Linked DNA regions of Homo sapiens: region 1 is linked to region 2. The links are contacts of gene promoters, found by promoter capture Hi-C in human tissues and cell types (Jung and others, 2019). All regions are on one chromosome and are shown on one strand. The core of a region is centred on a gene start or on the middle of the fragment in contact, and the rest is flanking DNA. Distances in the headings are between cores, read along the strand shown.

Region 1 (5,614 bases), core at 2,562-5,061, 200 kb before region 2:
TGAGGATCCCAAATGATGCCTCCTTGGCCTGATTCTTGTGCTTATCTCTGAGTGGTAGTCCCAGCGAGGGCCTCAGCTCTGTCTCTGACACAACCTGTGGTCTCGGGGCCCTTCTGTTCCTCATCCACTCCTGAACAAACTGTCCTCCCCACAAACCCCAAGACCAGCCCAGGACAGGTCTTGTGGAAACAGTCTGGTAACCTCACAGGGCTCTGCAGCCGTTTCAAGGAGGTTCTTTAGCACCCTCTGGTGGCTACTGCCAGAAATACCATGTTCAAATTGAAGAGGGCAGTGAGGGCGGTGACATTAACGTTGGACCGGATTCCCTGCTTCCTTTTCCATTCAGTCAGACCCTGAAGAGTGTCTCCCAGGGATTGCGGACAAGGAAATCAGGTGATTCTTTTCTATCGGTGCCCAGACTCGGGACTCCACGGTCTTCACTCTTAAAGTACGGCCTCCCAACCAGCAACATTGGAGAATCGGAATCAGAACCTACATTTCAACAAGAAACAGTGATTTATATGCAACTAACACTGAGAAGCTTTTTTCCCTTATATTTTGTCTTTTACATTTCTCCCTACCTCCTCACTGCCAAAAGACAATATACAATCAATTTTCACAGGTAAGCCCTCATTCTTCAAGTTAGGTCTTCCCCCAAGCTAAGGAGAAGGAAAAGAAGTAGAAGTTAGAAGATTTTGAATCAAAATTTGGTTCTGCTATGATTCACTAACATATTCAATTCTCTGAATCTCATTATTCTAAATGTTCAGATGAAAATAACATCTAGCCCTTATGGAACTAAGAATAAACTCATTTTCAAATCAGCTAACTTGGGGTCATTACTGGGATTCATAAATGCCAGGAAATTAGGATTGTTCAATTTCTGATGCCATTCCACTGGCCTTCTAGAAATGGTCATGTCCAACCCTTTGACTTCAAGCCGCAGTGCTCTGCTGGCATCCAGTGGTGAATGGTGTAATGTGGAAACATCAAACATGGTAATGCAGTGTACCCTAGAACTGACCCAGGAAGATGAAACCTAAAACCAGCAAACACAGCTTATCATATGACCTCCAGAACAGACCAAAGAGAGGAATAGAAGAAATGTGGCTACCAGCCCAATGTCAGCTGAAACTAGCAGCAGATAGAGACTTTATTGTTCTGAGCAAGACAATCTATACCAGTTCATTATCAGCTGCCAGGTGCCAAGCTAAAGTAATCTGTGCTCGATTTTCTTTTATGCATCATCCCAAATTAGATGTAAAATAATTGCCAAGAGTTCAGTCATGCTGAGACCCATTATTCAGTAATAAAATTGACATTTCTAAAGTACTTTATCACAAATGGCAGGTTAGTTCACACAGCGTTCTTGCCTGAATCACGAGCCCCAGCTTTGTGTCTTTCCATTTGCTTTATTTGCATGTTCTGCTCTTTCTACCTCCCACCTCCTAGAAATTAAAAATACCAGTAAGCAAAGAAAGGCACAGTGACTCTCGCTTTCAATTAAGGAGCTATTTCATATGCAGTGGTCACTTTTTATCAGTGCAGAATGGTGGACATCCCTGATAAGCAATCATGGTGTCCACAAGGACAGAGGACATTTTTAATTTTGCTGGGCATTTTGCTTAGCTTTGGAAATTCTTGTATGTTTTATCACTAATTTCAACTTATAAATTTCCTGCCTAGGAGCAACTTCAATGAATTCCGGTTTGGAAATATCCAGCAGATCTTTTTTTTTTTTTTTTTAATGAAAGCATCTCCCCACATTCGCCCACCTAAGATAACTCAGAGGCAGATGCACTTTTCACTGAAGTTAATGAGAATCTGAAAACTGCAATTGCAATGAGGTTGTAAACTGGGGTTAGCAGGATTCATGTTGCCGCAATTCATCTAACCTAGATTTAAGTCTCTGGAGTTATTATTTTTTCCCTCTTTGTTAAAAGCAAACATTTTTACAACCTCCTTATTTGTATACTGTTTTTATTATCCCACTACCCTTATGAAATTAATGAAAGAGAGACTTTTTTCTAAGTACTTCTTACGGAGACTCTTGAATGTGGACCTGCTGATTCCTCAGGGAGCCCACCCAGCCACTTGGGCCATGTCCCCCCGACTCGTGGTGCACATGTGAAAGGCAGGTAGGGCAGTTCCACTTTCTACAAAGGCCTGTGATTCCTGGAAACTCTGGCCAATTCTAAATCCCACTGACTGGAAGGGAACTTGAAGTCTCCTCCAAGTCTCTTTTTTCACAAAGTAAAGAACGAAGGTATTTTCCTAGCAAAAGCTAAAATTCCAAGGAAGATAAAAATTGAGGAAGTATCCCAACTCTTTGTTGGCACCCTCCATTGTCCACGTGCTCTGGCTTTGCACCCCGGAGTTTCCTCAAAACAGAACTGCAACCTCAGTGTGGACCTGGGACTAGTAAGATCATCCAGCCCATTTAATGTAAGTCATTTGTGTAACTGGGAAAGCCTTGGCCAAAATCTGAGGGGGTTTTTGGCAATGCTAAAGGCAACATCAATTAACAACAAAAATGCTTCCTTGTGTCCTGCCACCTTAGGACAAGCTTTACAATTTTGACATCTGGCCCCGTGCTCTTATCCAACCTGGGAAGTTGGTGGTGTGTTGGTGTGGCATCTTACTAAAGGCAAAATGATGACTTGTTTGTTGTTTATATTCTGTACCTGCTTGATTGATAAGCTTAGGTTTTGTTTTGTTTTGTTTTTTTTTTTTTAAGTCCTTTTCTTGTATCATCTCAGGTTGTGAGCAAAATCTTGGAAGCAATTTTTTTAGTTTGCTTTTTCTGTTTACTTCTCAGTGTTCCAGTACTGGCAGGTTTCTATTTGCTTTTCCTATTTGCTTTTTTGTGTTCTAGGACTGGCAAGACAAGGAGAATGATGTCTAGCAGGATCCCACTTCATCCTGTCCATTTCTGAGACAGAAATACTAAAAGGAAGTGAGTCTAGGAGAAACCTGGTGTCACTCTCTAGCTCTGTAACATCAAAGAAGCTTATTTTATTAAAAGGTTTCTTACTTAAAAAGAAATCACTCCATTTATGAGTCTCAACTCCCTTACCTTTGGGTGAGAAGTGATATAGACAATTGCTAAGGCACTATCTGGTCCTAAAACTCACATCCCTACCCTTCCCACAGCCTCCCCTCCCCTAAATACTCCCTGTCCAGGCAAATGTTGGTATTGCCATCCATTAAAATTAAGCTGTTGTGTCATCCTTGACCCCCCCACCAACAACAACCTCCCTTTTTAAATCATTCACCAAGAGTGATTTCATTTCCCCACCTCCTTAATATCTCTGGGATCCATCCACTTCATTTCCACCACTGCATCTGGCCACGTAAATGACTGCTCCTTACTTGGGGAAGTGACTTTACAAGCCAAGGTCATTCAGAATTAAATTTACAGATGATGGAATAAATCAAATTCATGTATTTATAAAGTGTAAAAGAATCTGGTCTCTCAGGAAAACATGACTTCAGTTTGAAGTGTATCACTAATTTAACTGTGAGTTTAAGCAAAAAAGTTTAATATAAATTTTAAGGATATTGGAATGTTTAAGAAAACTCAACATGAAAAATGTATGATATTATGTATTTGATTAACAAGATTTTCATACGTGGTCAGGAAGACTTGTTAGGGTTGTAATTTTGTCTTGCATAAGCATTTGAAATAACTAGCAAAAGTGAAATAAGATATTTATTCTAAAATCTTGAAAAGAATGTATTAAAGCAAATTTGTAAATTAGTCTGATTGTTTAAAGACAGTTATATTCGTTGGGTGGAGTTCATTAACATTGATTAAACAGCATGTAAAAGTGATTATTAATATTATATAAACATTAGAGTAAGATTAGTAGGCTGAGCTTGATGAAAATGTAAAATTGATAAACCTAAACTTTAAAACTAAACATTAATTCTGAACTCAAGCAAATATTAACAATCCTTTCTATACTCACGTTCCCTTCAGACCTTAAATTCACTGACAATTGTAAAAAGAGTTCTCTTTCAGTCATGGAAATGCTCACATTTAGGGACTTGGTCTGGAACATCTTAATATGCGTCTATTGTCTCTTAATTAAATACACAAGTGCAAAGTCAAACCAAGTTCTAGAGCATATCAAATCTCTGATTCCAATCTAACTTTTCATGATTTATTTTTTATGATTTATGATTTTGCAGGCCAAATGTATTCCAAAAACAGAGAAAATGTTTTAGCAACCTGATGTTCTCCAAACTATGATCTAGGCTTTACTAAAAATTTGTCTCTTGTTCTGCATAACTAGATCTACAATTACATAACTACATAACTACATCTTAGCACCCTTTTTATCCTGCTGGGATTTGTTACTGGTTGGGTGATCTTCCCTAAAACATAGACTTTACAGATTGATACGATCTGTAAAAACAAACTAAATTACCCTATGAGAAGGATGCTTGCCAGGTCTCAGAGCAGGATAGCGGCTTCTCTACACTCACTTCGCTGTCTTCACCCTCACCATCAATGTTTATTGTCCTTTCCAATTAATGTGCTTTATTATTTTAAACTCAAAATAAACAAGCAGTGAGAACTGAATAAAGGATTCTTCTACTTTACAGATTATCTCTTCGTTTGCCTTAAGAAATTTTGGAAGAAATACAATTTGCTACATTCTGACTCATAGCCATGCATAAGCTTATGGAGGGGGAAAGTTCACGGGGAGAGCCAAGTCTTCATAATGTCCTCTAATTATGTGTGGAACTAAATATGGAAAAACTAAGCATGTGTCTTGTCCACATATATAGACATCTACAATTTGGATTATCTCTAGTTTCTTTTTCTCCTCACACAACCTCCCTCAATAGATGATTTTATGTACCTATAATGCTTTTCCTTTATAGGAGGTGGAAAGTGGAAAGACTCAAGGAATAGCCTCTTGTGGCTTCTCAACAGGACACTGTGGGCATTTTTATTCCTGGCGCCTGACTCTCCTGCACATTAGGGGATGCTTCTCACATCTCTAGGCCAGAGCCACCAAATGCTGTCACTCATTGGAAATTTGTGGGGGCATTTTGTTTGTTACCAACACCCCGCCTGTAAGAGCAACTCCCTCACCTTCTGCAAAATTTGCAGGACCTCAGAAGAACAGGGAAGGCAGCGACCACTATTAACCCCTTAACCTTAGCACAGGGGCCCAGCTCTTCACCAGGTCTCTGCTTAAAAGAATGAGTGGCCTTTTAAATAAATAAAACAGCAAAGCTAATCTTTGTAAATATTTCCTACCCCATTCTTTGCCAATAGGCGCAGAGCCCCAGGAGAAATGAGAGGTGGGACCTTATGTTGTGAGTTAAGTTTGAACAGAAAAGGAGATTGTAGAACAACATTTGAGTTGGAAGGTATCTTAGTAGTCATCTAATCTAACACCCTCACTTAAGAGGTAAAGAAAATGAGGGTGTGAATCACTACCTGTAAAACATGCAGCAAGTGTCACCTATCACTGTGATAATTAGTAATTATTACACTTATTGCTATTACACCTGTCTACTTTAAAACTGCTTAGCCTCCTGGGAGGCTGTTTTAGTTCAGGCTTCTGTTGAAGCCAACTTTGATCCAAGGATGTGG
Region 2 (5,268 bases), core at 611-3,110:
TTTTCTCATTCTATTCTCAAAACGACCTTACTATAAAGGTATTAGCTCTCTGTGACTGATAAAACTGTGGCTTATAGATATGTTACCTAAGGTCAAACAGCTAAGGAAAAATCACACAGCTGGGAGGCTAACTGAAGTCTGTAAAACAAGTCCTTTTCCCACTAACTACGTATGTTAAATTGTTTTTCCAGTAGTGGTAATAGAGAACAGCTCTTCGCCCCTCCTTCTCTTCCCTCCACTTCCCCGTGAACAGCATACACTATTTCTTTGTGAGACCAGGTGCAAAGAGCAATCTCTGGCCATGACACAGAGTACGGCCTACAAGGATCGAAACTGTATTATGCTTTTATCCACAGCACGGTTCTAGCTAAATGATCTAACTACATACAAATGTAATGAGGTTGGAGTAGAAAAGCACATTAGCAAATAATTATCCAAATGCCATTTGTATTTGGTTCTGAAATGTACTGTAGACCTATTGGCAGCAGGTTTATCTTTACAACTGGGTTTTGCTTAGGCTATTCTCAAAATAGCTTTCCAGCAGCACATACTGAGTAGACAACAGAGGTTGCTTGATCTAGTTTTTGGAGACTGAGGAAAACATGTTTGTTGAGCCTATCTTGATTGACAAGATAACTAGAGGCAATACGGTAAAATGTAACACTGTGCTTCCAATGTGTACAAACGGCTCAGCTAAACTCCCTGAACACAATCCACCTAAACAGTCTAAGCTCAATAGCCGACCGAGTTAAGCAGGATGACAGCTCCAGTAACTTCCTCTTCCTCACCCAGCTCCTCAGCTCGGCGGCGCGTACACGCCTCTCCCCCTAGGAGGCAGGATAAAACAATTTCAAATGCACAAAATCCATCCAATCCCACAGGCCAGGAAAGCCAGTTTCCCTTTCTTCCTCAGCCCTTCCAAGAAAATGTTTGTCTAATTAAAAAAAAAAAAATCTTACCAACGGCAAAGTATTTGCAACAAAAATCCAAAATATTTACTCAGTCCCTCCACACAGCCTTAGGGGAAGGATGAAAAGAAGGGAACACGACACCGCGTATTCCCAAGACTGACTGTTCTGATTCACTTTCCTCCCTCGGGTCCCACAGCCGGCCGGGCGAAGGCTTGCAGTTGGAACGCCAAAATAAGCCTTCGCCTCTCAGGAGACGCGGAGGCGGCCACGGCGACGGCAATCGGCGAGTCCCGCCTCCGACCCTCACCTGCCCAGGCCCGAGGCAGCGCCGTGGGCTCGCGCGGGCTCGCCGTCCCGGGAGGCGTCCGGGGAGGTGGGCGGGCGCCCAGGCAGTTAGGCCGCGCTGCAGGCCGGCGCGCTTCCTGCCGCGGCCGGGGAACGGCGGCCCCGGGATCAGCGGCGCGGCACCGACCAGCAGCTCTCCCAGCCCCGCTGCCGCGCGTGTGCCGCACTCACTCAGCCCTCCCCGGCCGGCCCCCTAGGAGCAGCTCTCACCTGCGAGGCTCGGGAGCCGCAGCCACAAAGCGGGAGGGACACGCCACTCTGGGGTCCCGGCCCCGGGCCACCCCCGACACACACACACACACACACACACACCCCGGAACCTTCGCCCGCCTCTGAAGAGACGCGGGTCAGCCCCGCCGCCCCCTCCAGTCACCCGACACACACCCACTCGCCGTGGGTCCTCGGGCCGCCTCCCCGCCCGCCAAAGTCCCAACTCGCACACCCACACGCACATTTGTCCCTCTCCCACCTCATTTCCCCGGGGACGCGCTCCTCTTCCCAACACTCTCGGTCCTACTCGGAGGCAAAAGAACACTCTACCTCATTCTCTTCCTCTGGCCCAGAAGCAACAGCAGCCATTTCCCCGCGGCAGGGGAAACACACACACAAACACGCGCGCGCGCGCGCACCAGGCCCCCACAGATGCTTCCCCTCCAGAGCCGCGGCCGCAGACGCAGACGCAAACACAAACACCCACGGCGGGCCTCGCTCCCGCCCGCCCCGAGGGGAAGCCGCGGCGGCACACAGGGCCCGTAACCGGGGCTCGCGGGCGGGCGCGCAGGGAACCCGGGCCCGGGGTCTCGGGGGGCCCGCGCCCCCTCCTCACCTGCATTCAGCGCGCCGGGGTCCGGGCGGCGGCGGCGGCGGCGGCGACGGGGCGGCTGGTGCTGGTGCTGCGGCGGCGGGGGAGGCGGCGGCGGCGGTGGCGGCGGGGCTGAGGGCAGCAAAGACATGCAGGCAGCCCGCCGGAGGGGAGAGGCACCGGCCGGAGGGGATGCGGGGCGGGCGGGCCGGGCCGGGCCGCCTGACGAACGGCAGAGGCGGCGGCGCGGAAGGCGGCTGAAGGGAGCGAGGAGACAGACCGGGGGTCGGGAAGGGGGACGAGGGCCGCGCCGCCGGGCTTCGAGGACAGTGACCCCAGGCGCGCAAGAGAGGCCCCGCGGCCGCGGCCGCCGGCGCGAAGGCCCCAGCCGAAGGAAGCTGCGCCCCCGCAGGGCCGGAGCCGCGGCTACTGCTCCGAGAGCCACGCAGAGCCTGGCCTTGGCCTTGGCCTCCTGGTGCTGGGGCTGCCGCCGCTGCGGGGGTTGCCGCTGCGCCGGGTGCTGCTGGGGCCGAGGTTGAACAGAGACGCCAGCTTTCGGTGCCTTCGCTCCCGCTCACACACGTTCACACCCCCGAGGGCCGGGGGAGAGGCGTCCGGGCGATATCGGTATTGAGATTAATAACAAGGTGCAGAGAGTGCGAGAACGAGGAGGGTTGATTGACGTGGAGGGGCTGGCGGGAGTCAGTCACTCCCCGGCGCGGAGGGTTGGGGTGAGGGGAAGGAGGCGGGGCGGTGACGGGGCGGAGCTCCTACGCAGCGCCTTGGCCCCGCCCCCCGTGCGCCGCGTTTTGTCGCGGTGAGCGCGCGGAGGCCCGGGCTTCTTAATGGTTTTCTGTTTTGCTCTGGCTGTTTTCTCACTCTTTTTTCCTGGCCTGAGCGAGGAGCGGGGCTGAGAAGAGTGGTAGAGTTTCAGAAACCCACATCCACAGAGCCTTGGCGAAGAGACGGGAAACCGCCTCACCCCGGGTTCTTGTGTGGGCGCTGTTTACTGCACCCTCCTCGCCCGAGGCGACCTGACAGCGAAGCAGAGCGTAGGTCTAGGTGGCTGAGACGCCAGGGGAGGTGAAGTGACCGAAGGAAATGTTTCCTGACATATTCGGTGGATTTTTTTTAAAAACATATAGCATCTGTAAGTTGTATCGTCAAAGGTAAATAAAAGAACCTGTGACGCTCAGCGATAACCCGGTCCTATTTTCTAATTCTCCCTTCTCGTTGTAGACTTTAGTTTGTTGTTTGTAGCTTATCCATGCCATCTACAGAATGAAAACATCCAAATGCAAACTAGAAATAGTAGTGTTTACTTGGTGAACCTGGCTGTGATACTTTAAGTTTCTGGGGTTTGTTTTTGTTTTTGTGGGCCAGCTTCAGCTTTTTTGGGCCAGCAGTCCAAAAAGCAAATTACACCGGCTGTGGAGGCAGAGTACTGCTGTTGCAGTTTTGCACAATTTTAATCTCTTTCTCAATGCATGCCCGGGCTCGTGTATTTACCAGTGTTGGTCAAGGGTATATTAGCAATGTTCAGTATTTTTTCCCCCACAGGAGTGTTTAGCACACTAAGCACGTTGCGTTGGTTGCAATTCATCTTAGGCCTTATTACTGAATGTAAAATGCCTTCATCTCTTGGGGGAAAAGGTGCGGTGAAAATGCAAATCATCATTTAGCTAAAACTGAACAGCTGTTACAAGAGTCCATAATTGCAGAACTATTGCACCACTTTCATCTTGGCACCAGGATGGGTGAATGAGTGAGTAAAAAAGCCCCTCAGTTCACAAGACGACAGACTATTTTCTTTTCTACCTATGTTAATTTTCCATTTCCCTCCCTAGCAACACCAGCCCCACACCATCTTCTGTGAAACATGTCAAAATGGCCTTAAGCCTGGAAGAAGTCTCACTCTTTCCCAACTATCTAAGAGTCTAGGCTGACATAAAATGAATAATTATCTTTGGCTTTGTAAGCAGCAAAGCCAAGCAAGTCACTTCAGGAGTCCAAATAGTGGACCTGCCTCAATGGCATCTTGCCACAGTATTTCTCCGTAGCACACAAACACTCTCCCAGGGAGAAATACCACCAATTATAGAAGGAAAGAGGAAAATAAATACCTGAAAAAATGTAAATCAGATAATGTGATAGCCTCACAGATTTAAGCATCTTTAAATAACAATAAATTTATATGAATTTTCTGTGAGTATTCAATGAATTTTCATTCATATACAATAAACACATATGGAGGGCATATTATGTTCCAGATGCTATGTTTAGCATTGGAGACACACAGCCAAGCATATATAGTCCCTTTTCTTAAGTAACTCACTATCATTGTAGGGGAAGCTGACACATAAACAGGAAATTCTCACAGAACAAACCAGAAATGAAAGTATGAGAGGTGACACAAAATTAATAGTCACAACAATGTCTAGGAGGATGGGCTGACAGCACTGGCATTTACACGTGAGCCATTTGACATCTGCCCACTCTCACAGGCTGCCTAGCAGTAGTGACAGGTGGGGAAAAATGACAGGGCCATTGTGGATGTTAAAGAAGCACTAATAAATGGTGGACTTTGGTGGTCCTGAAGGTCAACTTTATATATGGGATGTTCTTTGTTGGCCTCTAAATTTTAAGTAGTAAATGCATCACAATCCATGGTGGGGAGGGGTAATTGTAACTTTCAGAGTTAATAGTGGACAGTGGATGTTGTCATAGGATCATTTATTTTAATGCAGGTTAAGTTTAGAATTTACTCTCAAAGATGTCCTCTTTATACCATATCAAATTGATTGACTCACTAAAAACAAAAGGAAAGCAATACTTTTATATGTTAACTATATTATCCAAAAAATAGATTGCTGTTTTTCTCATTTGCAATTAGAATGACATTGGAGAAATAATAGTTTTCAGATAGTTGGCACTATACAAATGCCAAGAAATTGTCTTCAGTGAGATTAAAAAACAAACAGGCCAGGCGCAGTGGCTCAGGCCTGTAATCCCAGCACTTTGAGAGGCCCAGGCGGGTGGTGGATCACCTGAGGTCGGGAGTTTGAGACCAGCCTGACCAACATGGTGAAACCCCATCTCTGCTAAAAATACAAAATCAGTTGGGTGTGGTGGCACACGCCTGTAATCCTAGCTACTCAGGAGCCTGAGGCAGGAGAATCACTTGAACCTGGGAGGCAGAGTTTGCAGTGA

What was found. The method cuts DNA at HindIII sites, captures the fragments that hold promoters and counts their contacts. A contact is called where the count stands out against the background at its distance.
Region 1: a contact is called between a fragment that was not itself captured here and the fragment with the promoter of CNOT6L in region 2, in 1 of the 25 tissues and cell types used here (hippocampus).

The regions. Positions count from the first base shown.
Region 1 is chr4:77,618,589-77,624,202 of GRCh38, forward strand. No RefSeq gene overlaps it. Among named protein-coding and RNA genes, the nearest start is that of CXCL13, 16 kb to the left of the region's middle. RefSeq lists a silencer at 183-282. The HindIII fragment of the contact is 4,517 bases long and covers 1,554-5,614 here.
Region 2 is chr4:77,817,508-77,822,775 of GRCh38, forward strand. It overlaps CNOT6L (CCR4-NOT transcription complex subunit 6 like), which reads right to left and starts at 1,861. Exons shown (of 12, transcript NM_144571.3): 1 at 1,797-1,861. The coding sequence starts at 1,801. RefSeq lists silencers at 1,158-1,557, 1,638-1,707, 2,198-2,297, 2,338-2,497, 2,758-2,907 and an enhancer at 4,351-4,400. The HindIII fragment of the contact is 8,896 bases long and covers 1-5,268 here.